Regions from separate parts of the Homo sapiens genome. Here region 2 is linked to region 1. The links are contacts of gene promoters, found by promoter capture Hi-C in blood cells and fetal thymus (Javierre and others, 2016). All regions are on one chromosome and are shown on one strand. The core of a region is centred on a gene start or on the middle of the fragment in contact, and the rest is flanking DNA. Distances in the headings are between cores, read along the strand shown. Region 1 holds the start of GLIPR1L1 (GLIPR1 like 1). Region 2 overlaps E2F7 (E2F transcription factor 7).

Evidence for each region. The method cuts DNA at HindIII sites, captures the fragments that hold promoters and counts their contacts. A CHiCAGO score of 5 or more calls a contact.
Region 2: a fragment that was not itself captured here is called in contact with the fragment with the promoter of GLIPR1L1 in region 1 in 2 of 17 cell types (M1 macrophages and M2 macrophages); the score reaches 5.8 in M1 macrophages.

Annotation. Positions count from the first base shown.
Region 1 is chr12:75,331,644-75,337,777 of GRCh38, reverse strand. It overlaps GLIPR1L1 (GLIPR1 like 1), which reads right to left and starts at 3,108. Exons shown (of 6, transcript NM_001304964.2): 1 at 2,876-3,108. The coding sequence starts at 3,049. It also overlaps a transcript of CAPS2 not described here. RefSeq lists a silencer at 3,262-3,371. The HindIII fragment of the contact is 15,549 bases long and covers 1-5,149 here.
Region 2 is chr12:77,053,355-77,059,488 of GRCh38, reverse strand. It overlaps E2F7 (E2F transcription factor 7), which reads left to right. Exons shown (of 13, transcript NM_203394.3): 3 at 3,359-3,634. Among named protein-coding and RNA genes, the nearest start is that of E2F7, 9.1 kb to the left of the region's middle. The HindIII fragment of the contact is 1,509 bases long and covers 2,653-4,161 here.

The DNA of each region.
Region 1 (6,134 bases), core at 1,859-4,358:
AGGCAAAGTTCAAGGATTTAATGTTACTTTATAAGACACATAGTACGGAATGTAATATTTATGAGACTTTATGTGATAAATAACATGGCACGCATATATGAAATAAAAATTCCAATCTTGAGGTAGGTAGTTTCACTGACGTATACATATGTAAAAAAAATTGTACATTAAAACTAGTGCATTTTATGCACTTATTCACTAGTAATCATTCAATAAACAACATATCAAAATATTGTGTCAATTTTATAAAATGCTGATTTTCAAGACATTTGTCCATTTATTTTCTTTATGTTGTAAAATTTATTAGTATAAATTTGTTCAAAATATTCTCTATCTATCCATTTAATGTGTGGAGTTTTTTAAAAGTGATTTTCCATTCCTAAAATTGATTTTTGAGTTGTGTCTTTCTTCATTAATCTTTTTTTTACTACTGGTTTATCAATTTTATTAATATATAGTTTTAAACCAACTTTTGATATTATTGATTTTAGTCCTCATACTTTTACTTTCAATTTCATCAAATTATGATCATCTTTAGTTTTTTAAAAATTTTCTTGTGCTTAATTTAAACTTGTTTCCTACCTTCTTGAGTTGAAAGAATAGGTCTTGATTTTTAACCATTCTTCTTTCCTAAAATATTCATTTAAATCTATACGTATGCTTCCAAACACTTCTTTTGCTATATCCCACAAATTTTGATATGCTGTGTTTCCATTAACATTCAAATCTAAATTATAGTAATCTCTATTATTATTTATTCTTTAACTTATGGACCATTTAGATATGTGCTGCTTGATTTCACATTTTGGGAGATTTTGCACACTTTATTTCTGGTTTAAGACTTTTTTTTCAGAAGATATAGGACAAAATTTCAAATACTGTTAATTTATTGAGACTTGTTTTATGGTTCAGCATATTGTTTATATTGATGAATGTAATGAATACTTGATAAAAATTTGTATTTTGCAGTGTGGTATAAATTGTTTAATGTCAATTAGGTAAAATTGTTTGATGTTCAAATCTTTTTTATTTTTACTGATTTTTACCTACTTGTTCTCTTACTCACTAAGATTAAAATCTCTATGACTGTTTTGTCTCTTTCTCCCTTTACTTTTGCCAATTTTTGTGTATTAAAATATATTATTACATTTATTTGTATTGAAGATTGCTGTGTCTTTTGTTGAATTAGCCCTTTTATTTTCCTAAATGTCCCCTTTTATTTCTGGTAGTTCTCCTTGTCTTAAAATCTACTTCAGTAGCCATAAATATAGCTATTCTATCTTAATTTTAGAGTTTGCATAATGTATTTTTTCCATCTTTTTACTTTAATCTATTTGTGATATGTTTCTGTTACAAAAGCATTAATCCAATCTGATAATCTTTATTTTTAATTAAAGTATGTAGTAGTCATTTGCATTTAATGTAATTTTAACATGGTTAAGTTTTAGTCTACCATTTGCTATTTTTAAATGATTCCCTCTTTGTTCTTTTGTTCCTTGTTCCTGTTTTCCAAAAATTAATCAAGGACTTTAGTATTCTACTTACTGGATTTTTAGCTCTACTTCTTTGTATATTTTTAATGGTTATCCTAGATATTAAAATATGCATTCTTAACTTCTCACGGTCCATCCAGAAATATTATTGTGATTCTTAACAATATAAGGAACTTTCAGCAGAATAATTCTATTGACACTTCACTTCATTTTTTATGCATTGGTTATAATGTGTTTAGTTTCTACATTATTATAAACTCCACAATTCATTGTTATCATATTTTGCTTTAAATAGTCAATGAGTACAAAAGAAATATAAAGAACATTTATTATATTTAACCCCACATTTACTCTTTTTTATCATACATTTACAATAAAACTCTAAAGGCATCAACCATATTAATACTAATATTAGTATTTCTGAATTCCGTTGAAGATTTATTTCTAGTTAATTTATGCCTTGGACAACCCCAAGCTGGTAAACATTATATATTAAAATATCTTAACAATTCTGCATTAAAGAGATTAGTTTATTCTTGTTTCATTTCTGATACATATTTGAATCTTTCTCCATCAAAATATAATTTTCTTATACAGTAGACTAGTACAGTTTTGAACTTATTTTAATGCCTGAGTTGTGATTTTATAATTACTTTTGTTTTCCACTGGATAGAAAAGAAGAAAGCTGGAATAGATATGAGTTATACTGTATCTACATCTGCATAGCACATAAAATAGACTAATACTATCAACGTTTATGCTCATAGTGATGCATTTATAAACAAGAAAAAGTTACAATGCAAGGGAAATTTCCAATCATACAATTCATAGTCAAGTATTTAAAATTTTGTAAATTCTATGGATTATTTAATAATCCAATGCTTTTTATGCTTATTCTTCAATAGAGTACTGTATTTTTTTCAAATAATACTACACATGAAGTGTTGTTTTGATCTTGGATTCATATGATATAAAAATAAGTAAGAGAACAAGAGAATCTCCATTCCTGGGCTATTTCTTTGGTATCTTGTATCTTGGTTGTGGGGGGTGGAAATTGCTAGCTAAAAAATGGAAGAAAGAAAACAAAATAATCCTGTGTTCAGTACTTATAACTTTAGTGGTGCAACAAAGCAACTTCCAAACACTGCTCCAGCATCCCCACCTTCCCCGCAAGAGGCAAGGAACAGCTTCAAGTCTTCCTTTCTTGTTCACTCCTATGACTCTGGAGGAGACAGCCCAACCAAGGTGTGAATTTTTTTCTTTTTAACTGCATATATGTAAAGTCCGGATTGAATTAGTACAAGTTAAGTCCGTGAAATTTATCACCCAGATACCTCAGGATGAGTCAGGGATTTAAGAGCCCAGCCCTGGTTCTTTCTCACCATGTATTTCATGTCGGCCGCGGGAGGGTTGACTTTGCCACGCCATTCGTTGTGGGCTTCTATGCAGTTGTCTATAAAGTGTGGGTCAGTGATGGATGGGATTTTGGAAGATGTAGTGGCTACCAAACACAGACCCAAGATCCATAAACAACTGAATTTATTCTTCAGAGCCATGGAAGGATGTGGAGGATGCGGAGGATGCCCTGACTGCGCGGACCAGTAACGGCTGGGGCAACCCGATTTCCCCACGCCCCCGCACCACGCTCTCCCTTGGCTCCATCCTGCCGCACAGGCTCGAGCCCAGCGCGGCTGGATCAACTTGTCAGTGTCGCTGTGGGGAAGAACAGGCAGCAGGGTTCCCCTTCCACAAAGCTCTGAGCTACAGGGGAAAGCTCTGAGTCGCCCTCTGGTGGAGGGAATTTCAACCATCCAAACTGCTTTCTGTGGATCCAATCTGTAATCTGCAGAGCGCGTCTGGATTGTAATACAGATTGCAATATGCAAGCCACACAAGTTAGGTAAAGAACAAGTGCGGGATGCTGACAATGGGCCAGTCGAGTGCAAAGCACTATATATTCGTTTCTTAGACGCAGCTTCCGTGTATAGATTTTTATTGTTCTAAATAATCTAGAATCATATTGCCACTTCCCTCAGAGATTGGGAATAGAGTAAGAATAGGCAATTCTTATACAGTGACATACAGTGATCCTAAATTATCAACTTGTCAAACATTTAATAATTTCCTTCTGTTTTTTCGTCTGAAGAGACCGAATGCTTAGATAGATAACAATAGATGCTTGGAAAATGTAGCCAAGTAGTTCCTCTTGACAAAATCTTCCCTTTTTGATAGTTTGGAACAGAGCCACTGTATGGTGACTGGTAGACTCCAAGAGTTGCTTTAATTGATACACTGAGACTGGGATGGACAGAGTACATTTGATTGTCTATTTTACCTGCAATGCAATATAAATCAACGTCATTTGGCTTAATGTTTTAAATTCATTACATCAGTTATATTGATATTCTGTAATAAACCAGCATTTTTCCCCATGACATTAATTTTTTTTAGTATTTCTATGTTTCAAATAAATACCTTTACTTAGTAATTTGAAGTTGTTTACAATGCTGTTTAATTCAAGTGAACACGTACTTACATCTGCTGAATGATCCGCCATAGTCAACCTTGACACAAAAAACAAAAACCAAAACAAACTACTTTGATGCAGCTACTATCTTTTTAAAAATAAAAAGCAGAAAATTAGATTATAAGAAAACGAAAAATGCAAGGATCCTAATGGAAATTCTACTGGGCAATAGATAATATATTTCTAGTCTACTACCAGCTAATGGAGAATTGCTGTATATACTACTTTCATATCACATACATAGTCCAAACTGAGCTTCTGATATCCCACACCCAAAGACATGAACATATATACGTGTGTGTGTGTGTGTATATGTGTGTGTGTAGGTATACAGATAGATAAATCAATACAGTTATATACATCTACATGTGTCTATATATATATGTCTCTTCCTGGATATAAAGATATCTATAGGCATATACACACATACATATACACACATACATTTATATATGTAAAGTTCTCTCTATGTATAAATCTGTTTGTATACACATATATGTGTGTGTGTCTGCCTATAGACATATATACATCTACACAGAGAGAGATACAGATGTCTATAGGCATATATACATATACATATGTTTGTATACAAAGAGAAAGAGAACTTTTAAGGAATTGGCTCACATTACAGTGGGGGGCTACAATAAAAAATCTGAAGTCCTAGGTATGGCCCAAAAGACACTACATAATCTGACCATGGCTAGTTCTCTGGCATTCTCTCCTGGCTTATTCTGCATCAGCCACATCCATCAGCTTGATAAGGATGCTCTCTCCTCAGCATCTTTGCACTTGCTGTTACTTTTGCCTGCAGTGCTCTTTATAGAGTTCCCTTCAGTGAAGTCTTCCCTGATCATTCTATATCCCCTGTCTGTCAGTGCCTATCCATTTAACCTGTTTTATTTTTCTTCATTGCATTAATTACCTCCTGAATTTATGTTATTTATTTTTTTAACATCTGCCTTCTCTATCAGATTGTAGCCTTCACCACAACAGTAGCTTTGTTTTCTTCATTGCTACATCTCTAGCACCTTGAACAGGAACTGAATCTTTAGGCTCTCAATAAAAATTGGTCGAATAAATAAATGAGTTCTCTTTAACTTTCTAATAATGTTGTATACAACTGTAAGCTTCTTGAGAGCAGAAACTATATTTTAATTGTTATATATATGTATATATACATATGAGGGGCTCAATAAATATTTTTGACTTAATCACATAAAAGGAAATGCTGGGTAAGCTTATATATTTCACTTTTTCTAACACTGGGTATATTTGAAGATAGAAGGTGTTCAGTGGATGTTTGTCAAATACATAAGTGGCTGAATGAACAAATAAATACAAAGATAAAGTAAAATATTTTCAAGTAGTAGGTACTCAGTGAATGTTGGCTGCATTAATGAATGATCAAGTAAATGAAAATTTAAAGTTGAGCTTCAAATGCAAACTCTTTTGGAACTGCAAAACAGTAAAGGTTGATAGGGATAAGGTTAATAGGGATAAAGGTTAACAGATAGCTAATTTAGTTTCATTTAGTGTATAGAGAAATTAACTGCCTGTAACAACAACAGAAATTTCATAGAGTAATGAATTTAAAGATTGGCAAAAGTAGAGTATATATAGTCAAACATAATCCAAGATTATTGCTCTTCTAAGAGACGTTTTTAATAAAATGTCTGAATTGTATACATTATGTTTTTTAGATCATGTTCCCAATGGCTTAGACAGCTATATTCAGAAATACTAAAACAATTTAGGTGTAAAAAGTCTAATTGCCAGGAATCAACAAGTGCATGTCCTAATGTTATTTTCTTGAACATCTATTTCTGGAATGGCCAAGGTTAGTTGGTGCACCAGAATTTTTAAGTTCTTTTATAACTTTTTAAAAGTTAAATTTAGGCCGGGCGCGGTGGCTCACGCCTGTAATCCCAGCACTTTGGGAGGCCGAGGGGGGCGGATCACGAGGTCAGGAGATCGAGACCATCCCGGCTAAAACGGTGAAACCCTGTCTCTACTAAAAATACAAAAAATTAGCCGGGCGTAGTGGCGGGCGCCTGTAGTCCCAGCTACTTGGGAGGCTGAGGCAGGAGAATGGCGTGAACCCGGGAGGCGGAGCT
Region 2 (6,134 bases), core at 2,158-4,657, 1.7 Mb before region 1:
CCTTGGAGATAGATACTTTCATCTAAATTCCTCATTTTATACCTACGGAAATCTGGGCCCAGACAGAATGAACAGTTATCCAGGATCAAAAAGATACAAACAGCTGGGACACAAATCAGGTTTCCATTGCAGTGCCCTTTCCACAGCCGTATATGCTGTCAGCATAGCAGGACAGACAGATGGAGCAAGGTGTGACTAGATTGCAGTTGACTTTCTGTCCACCTGACACCTTAGAAAACAATTGGGTTGGCATTTTTTTTTCTTGATGTAGAGGTGTAATACAATCATAACCTACCACATGACCTAGCTCCCCTCCTACTTTAAGTATTCAGTAAACTACAGTGAAAATATATCAAAATATATGAAGAAATAATCCATTCTCAGTTGCTCCCTCGCTAAAGTAACTCTTTTGGAAGCAATGGAGAAGGCATGTAAATCTCTGTCCACCCAGCATGCCTGGACCACACCCTCCACCATGAGGATACCTTTTGGAATAACTCATCAAAGCACAGTGTTCTTTGAGTATCTGCAGTGGGCAACGCATTGTGCCAAAAATTGCGATGAACAAGACATGTGGAACTTGCTTCTTGACCTTTTCAAGGGCACAGTCTTGTTACTGAGACAAGACACACATCCTGGAAGTTAAATAGCAATATGATGTGCTGTAGTATATTTAGCTCGAAATGCCAGAGTGAATGGTAATAAAGAATAGAAAAGAGGGAAAAGATAATAGCTAAGTTTTATCGAGCGCTCACTATATGCCAGGAACTAATCTCATAACCCTTGAGATTGGTATTTTTATGAACTTCATTTTCGGTTGAGAGAAATAAAGTATAGTGAGGTACAGGAACTTGCCACACTCACCCCTGCTGATAAGCAGCAGGGGTAGGTTAACTGGCCCTACATCCTGTGTATATAACTATTTCCCCATGCTGCCTCTCGCTAGGTACTAGTGGGGATCAGTGGCCTGCTGGGTACCTTTGGTTGGAGCTGTGGAAAAGATAACTTCCTCCCAGTTTGTGCCCAGGACACAGGCTCATTTTTAAGTGTAGAATTTCAGAAAGTTCTGCCTTCAGCTGTTTCTTGCATACCGATGATTTTACACTGAATGAGGTCATAGGTGACCTCAGCCAAGTTATTTGACTTCTCTGTGCCTCAGTTTCTTCATCTATACAACGGAAAAATATTAGTGCCTATGTCACAGGATTGGATGAGGAGTCAATACATGCAAAATACATGAAACAGAGCGTGGCACATAGTAATCAGTAATTTCCCTTGAGAGTTCACCTGTAGAAGCCTTTATCAGAATAGCACACTAACAGGGACTTGTTAAAAGAGGTGGGTAGATGCAGCATTCTGGGCCGAGTACTTACTGTAGTATGAGAAATCGCCACTTCCACTGACTCCTCTCCTTCCTCTTATACTAGGACCGAATGTTGCCATGGCTAGCATGCAGCTTCTGCTGATCCAAGGAGCAAGAGTTGCCTTGCCTACACAAACTCCAGTTTCTCCCAATATTTTACCTCTTCACACGTTGCTCATTTATAGGAAAACACTTACTGTAACCCCCTGCTCAACCAAAACCCAAGCATTCAGTAGCTATACAGAATGTACAGGGAAGGAGTGACTGAGAACTCATCTACCTTTGTAATTATATGACACACTATTGACTGGAAAGGAATACTACAGAAAGAGCAGAATCTTTCTGTTTTTGAATATTGAATTATCGAATTCTCATATTGAATTTTTGAAACTTTTTTAGGGGAAAGATACGTTTTAATTACTTGTTAGTTCCAAAGGTGGATTCTATATACTTAGTCCTTTTTTACAATGGGCCCATCGTTAGTCTTTTCTTAGAATTATTTAAGACAGTCTACATCAACGGGTGGTCTGGAGGCAGATGGTATTCCACAAACTATCACCAGGGTGCAAAAAATTAAGAACGGAACTTGAGAGTTAAGCACTTAAAAACCTCAGTAGTCTAGATGTGGTGGCTCATGCCTGTAATCCTAGCACTTTGAGAGGCCAAGATGGGATGATTACTTGAAGCCAGGAGTTTGAGATGAACCTTGGTAACATAGTGAGACCCCGATCTCTACAAAAAATTAAAAAAGGCCAGGCCTGGTGTCTCATGCCTGTAATTCTAGCACTTTGGGAGGCTGAGGCAGGAGAATCACTTGAAGCCAGAAGTTCAAGACCAGCCTGGGCAACATGGCAAGACCCCGTCTCCACACAAAATTTTAAAAATTAGCTGGGTGCAGTGGTGTGCACACCACTGTAGTATGCACACCACTGGAAATCCCAGCACTTTGGGAGGCTGAGGTGGGAAGATCACTTGAACCCAGGAGTTTGAGGCTGCAGTTAGCTGTGATCATGCCACTGCCCTCCAGCCTGGGTTACAGAGTGAGACCCTATCTCCAAAAAATAAAATATAAGTATTTGGGTGTAGTGGTGCATGTCTGTGGTCCCAGCTACTTGGGAGGCTAAGGCGAGAAGATTGCACGTGCCCAGGAGTTTGAGGCTATAGTGAATTATGATCACACCACTGTACTCAGGCTGGGCAACAGAGTGAGACCCTATCTTTTAAAAAAAAAAAAAAAGTAAGAAAAATAAACCTCAGTAGCAATTCAGTATTGCCACCATATCTAAGCTTATGATTAGTGGTCTCTTCTTGTTGAAGAAGCTGTGGGTCAGTTTGAGTGACAAACTCAAATGGCAAATCACATCTGGTGGGAGTTGTGTTGCACATTAGTCCTGTGAAGTAAGGTCACATATCAGTTTGCAGGAGTTTGGAAATCTAAAAAAACGAGTCCTTTACCATGGGTAGTTTGAGATGCACTGCTCTGGAGAATGACGTTAGAGAGCTCTCTAGGTTGGCTTAAAATGTGGGATTTTGTTGGATGCTCTTCCATTAACTGGTCCTGCTACTAAGTGCTGTATTAGCACTGGTGCACATTGAACTACAGAAGCATTGTTGCTCTTCACTAGTCAATGCAAACTTGTAAGTAGTGTTTTAAAAAAGGTGACACTTAGAAACAATATGGACTCAACCCACATTGGCCCTCATAGTCCTCATCTGTTATAAACATGCAACAGTAACAGATACGTTGTGATTTCTTTTACAGAGATACCATGAAAGATAGGTGTAAAAGGAGTAGCAGAGTATAATCTACTTCTCATTGGAGCCACTCTTCTATTCCCATGACTACTTTTCGTTAGTCCTATCCTGATACTTTTCAGCCCTAAACATATGGTCCTATTTGTATTTTCAAGTCTTAGTGAATGGTGGGAACAAAGTATACTCTTAGCTGATACCTGCCCTTTCTCATTCTTGCTAAAAGTTTCTTTTTTAAAATAGGAAAATATATTTGTTGATCGATCAAGGATGGCCCCGAAGACTCCAATAAAAAATGAACCAATTGATTTATCGAAGCAAAAAAAATTTACTCCAGAAAGAAATCCCATTACTCCAGTTAAGTTTGTTGACAGACAGCAAGCGGAACCATGGACACCCACAGCTAACCTGAAGATGCTCATTAGTGCTGCCAGCCCAGATATAAGGGACCGGGAGAAGAAAAAGGGACTATTCCGACCCATTGAAAACAAGGACGATGCATTTACAGATTCTCTACAGGTAAACAGACTGTGCTCCTCAGGGATTTTTTAGAACTTAAACAATTTTACTTGATTATTAAAAAATCATAGAACTGTCAACTTTTCAGCTCCTATTGAGCCAAAAGCAGTGGCAAACTGAATATCTTTTGATTTGTAGTAGAATTCTCATTCTATCTTATTTTTCATAATGAATGCTTTCTTTTCTGTATGATACTCCCTGGACCAGGGCTCATTTAAAAATGATAAATTATTTTAAAGTAATGATATTTAATCATTTTTATTTAATGAAGGAATTTGGATTCTTTAAATGCTGCTGTGAATTTTAATTTTGCCCAGATTTTAGGGATAATGTTAATGTAAATATTTTTGATTTAGGAAATTCCATTATTCTTATATATGTTCAGTTGGTTAGTTTGGGGCTTTATTGAAGTTAAGCCATCTTTAAATTACCTGTTCTGTGGGGAACCAGTGCTGTTGAATAAGCAGCATGTCTATACTTCGTTAAAAAAAAAAAAAAAGGTAATTATTTTCACTTCCCATCAAGCTTTTTCTCAGACTTCCTAAGAAAAGTTTTGCAGATTTCAGTATTCTTAACCATTTTTCTCTTTTTGGCGGATTTTTCAAGCTATAAAAATTGCCAAAATGAAGAAATTGGGAAGAGAGAAAAAAGATGTCTCGAATTACAACTTGAAATTCATAGAACAGAATGAATTTAATCTGTTATATATCTTGCAGTGGTAGAGTAGCGGTAGTAGTAAGAGATTCTTTCATGTAACTAAATACAAATCACACAGTAGTTCCTATGTGCTTGAAGCCAGAGGAATTTCACAATTCCTTTTTTTAAGTCTGGGCTGTTCTTTGGCTTCCTTTCCGTCTTATGTTTGATGTGGATCACACAAGGAGCTGGTCTAAGGCCTTAGGTTCAAATCACTAGCTGGGTGAGTTGGGGATATCACTCAGGATCTCTGCATCTCAATTTACTCACCTGTAAAATGAGGGTCGTGGTACCTGTCCTGGTTTTATTGGGGTTCTAAAAACTAAATAAGATTAAATGTGCCTTTTGTTGTCAAAGGCATGTAAGTATTAGATTTTTTGTAATTTTTTTGACAAAAATATAGCAAAGTGAAAATCAGCCAATGGGAATCGTTAGTGACCTCTTTCGCAAGGTAACATTGTTGATCTCTTACTTTGGCAGAACTAGTTGTTTAACACGCCCCTAAAACAATTAAAATTTTGGTTTTCTACCCAGGCTTTATAGAGAGATTTTAGCGATCAGTCACTAGAAAGGTTCACCACCTGTAGGAAGTAAATGCCTAAAATTTCGGTGGATTTAAAACAGACTTTCTTTTAAAATCTAGGGCTTTAATATCTTTCAGCAGTGTTTCACAATTTTTGGTATACAGGTGTTATACATCTTTTGTCAGATTTATCTCTAGGTTTCCAAATTTTTTGATGCTATTGCAAATTGTATTTTTTTTTTAGTTTCAATTTCCCATAGTTTGTTTCTAGTATATACAAATACAATTGATTTTTTTGTGTGTGTGTATTGATCTTGTATCCAGAAAACTTACTATACTGATGCTTTTAATGTCTGATTTATTAGATCAAAGTCAAGTGTTTTAAGTAGTTTTTTTTTTTCTTTCTAACTTTTAAGTTCAGTGGGTACATGTGCAGGTTTGTTACATGGGTAAGTTGCATTTTGCGAGTGTTTGGTGTACAGATAATTTGGTCACCCAGGTAATCAGCATAATACCCAATAGGTAGTTTTTCAATTCTCACCCTCCTCTCACCCTCTACCCTCAAGTAGGCCCTGGTGTCTATTGTTCCCTTCTTACTGTCTTGGGGTACTCAGTGTTAAAACAGACTTTTTTATACCTTTTTAAAACTAGTCTTTATTACCTTTTGATAGACTATTTGATCATGTAAAATACACTTATCCTTTGCAGTACCTTTAACACCATGAATCTACCTCTCAGCCCAAAAATGGATGCGATGTAATTAATTTACATTTCTCTCCCCAACAGAATAACCATTCTTCTGAATTTGTATTTATAGTCTTAGAGGACTTGCTTTTGTCAATCAACATACATCCTTTAGGTTCATTTGTGTTTTCGCATGTAGCTGTAGTTCTTTCATGGCTGTATGATATTCCATTGCATGACTACACCACAATTTATTCATTCTCCTGTTTATAGCCATTTGGGTTGTTTGCAGTTTAGGGCTAATACAGACTATGCTATGATATTCGTTCTTGTTTATGTCTGCTGGTGTACATATACAAGTTTGCCTTGGGCAGTGGTTCTCAAAAGGTCATCTGGGGACCTCAGTGTCCACAGACAGTCTTTCAGAGAGTCAGGAGGTCAAAACTGTTTTTCATAATTATACAAAGACCTTTGCCATTTGAACTCCCATTCTCTCCCAAGTGTACACTGGAGTCTTCCAGGAAGTACACAATGTGGATATTGCAACAGACTGACTACAAAAGGCAAGCACAAGAATCAGTTCTCTTCTATTAATCC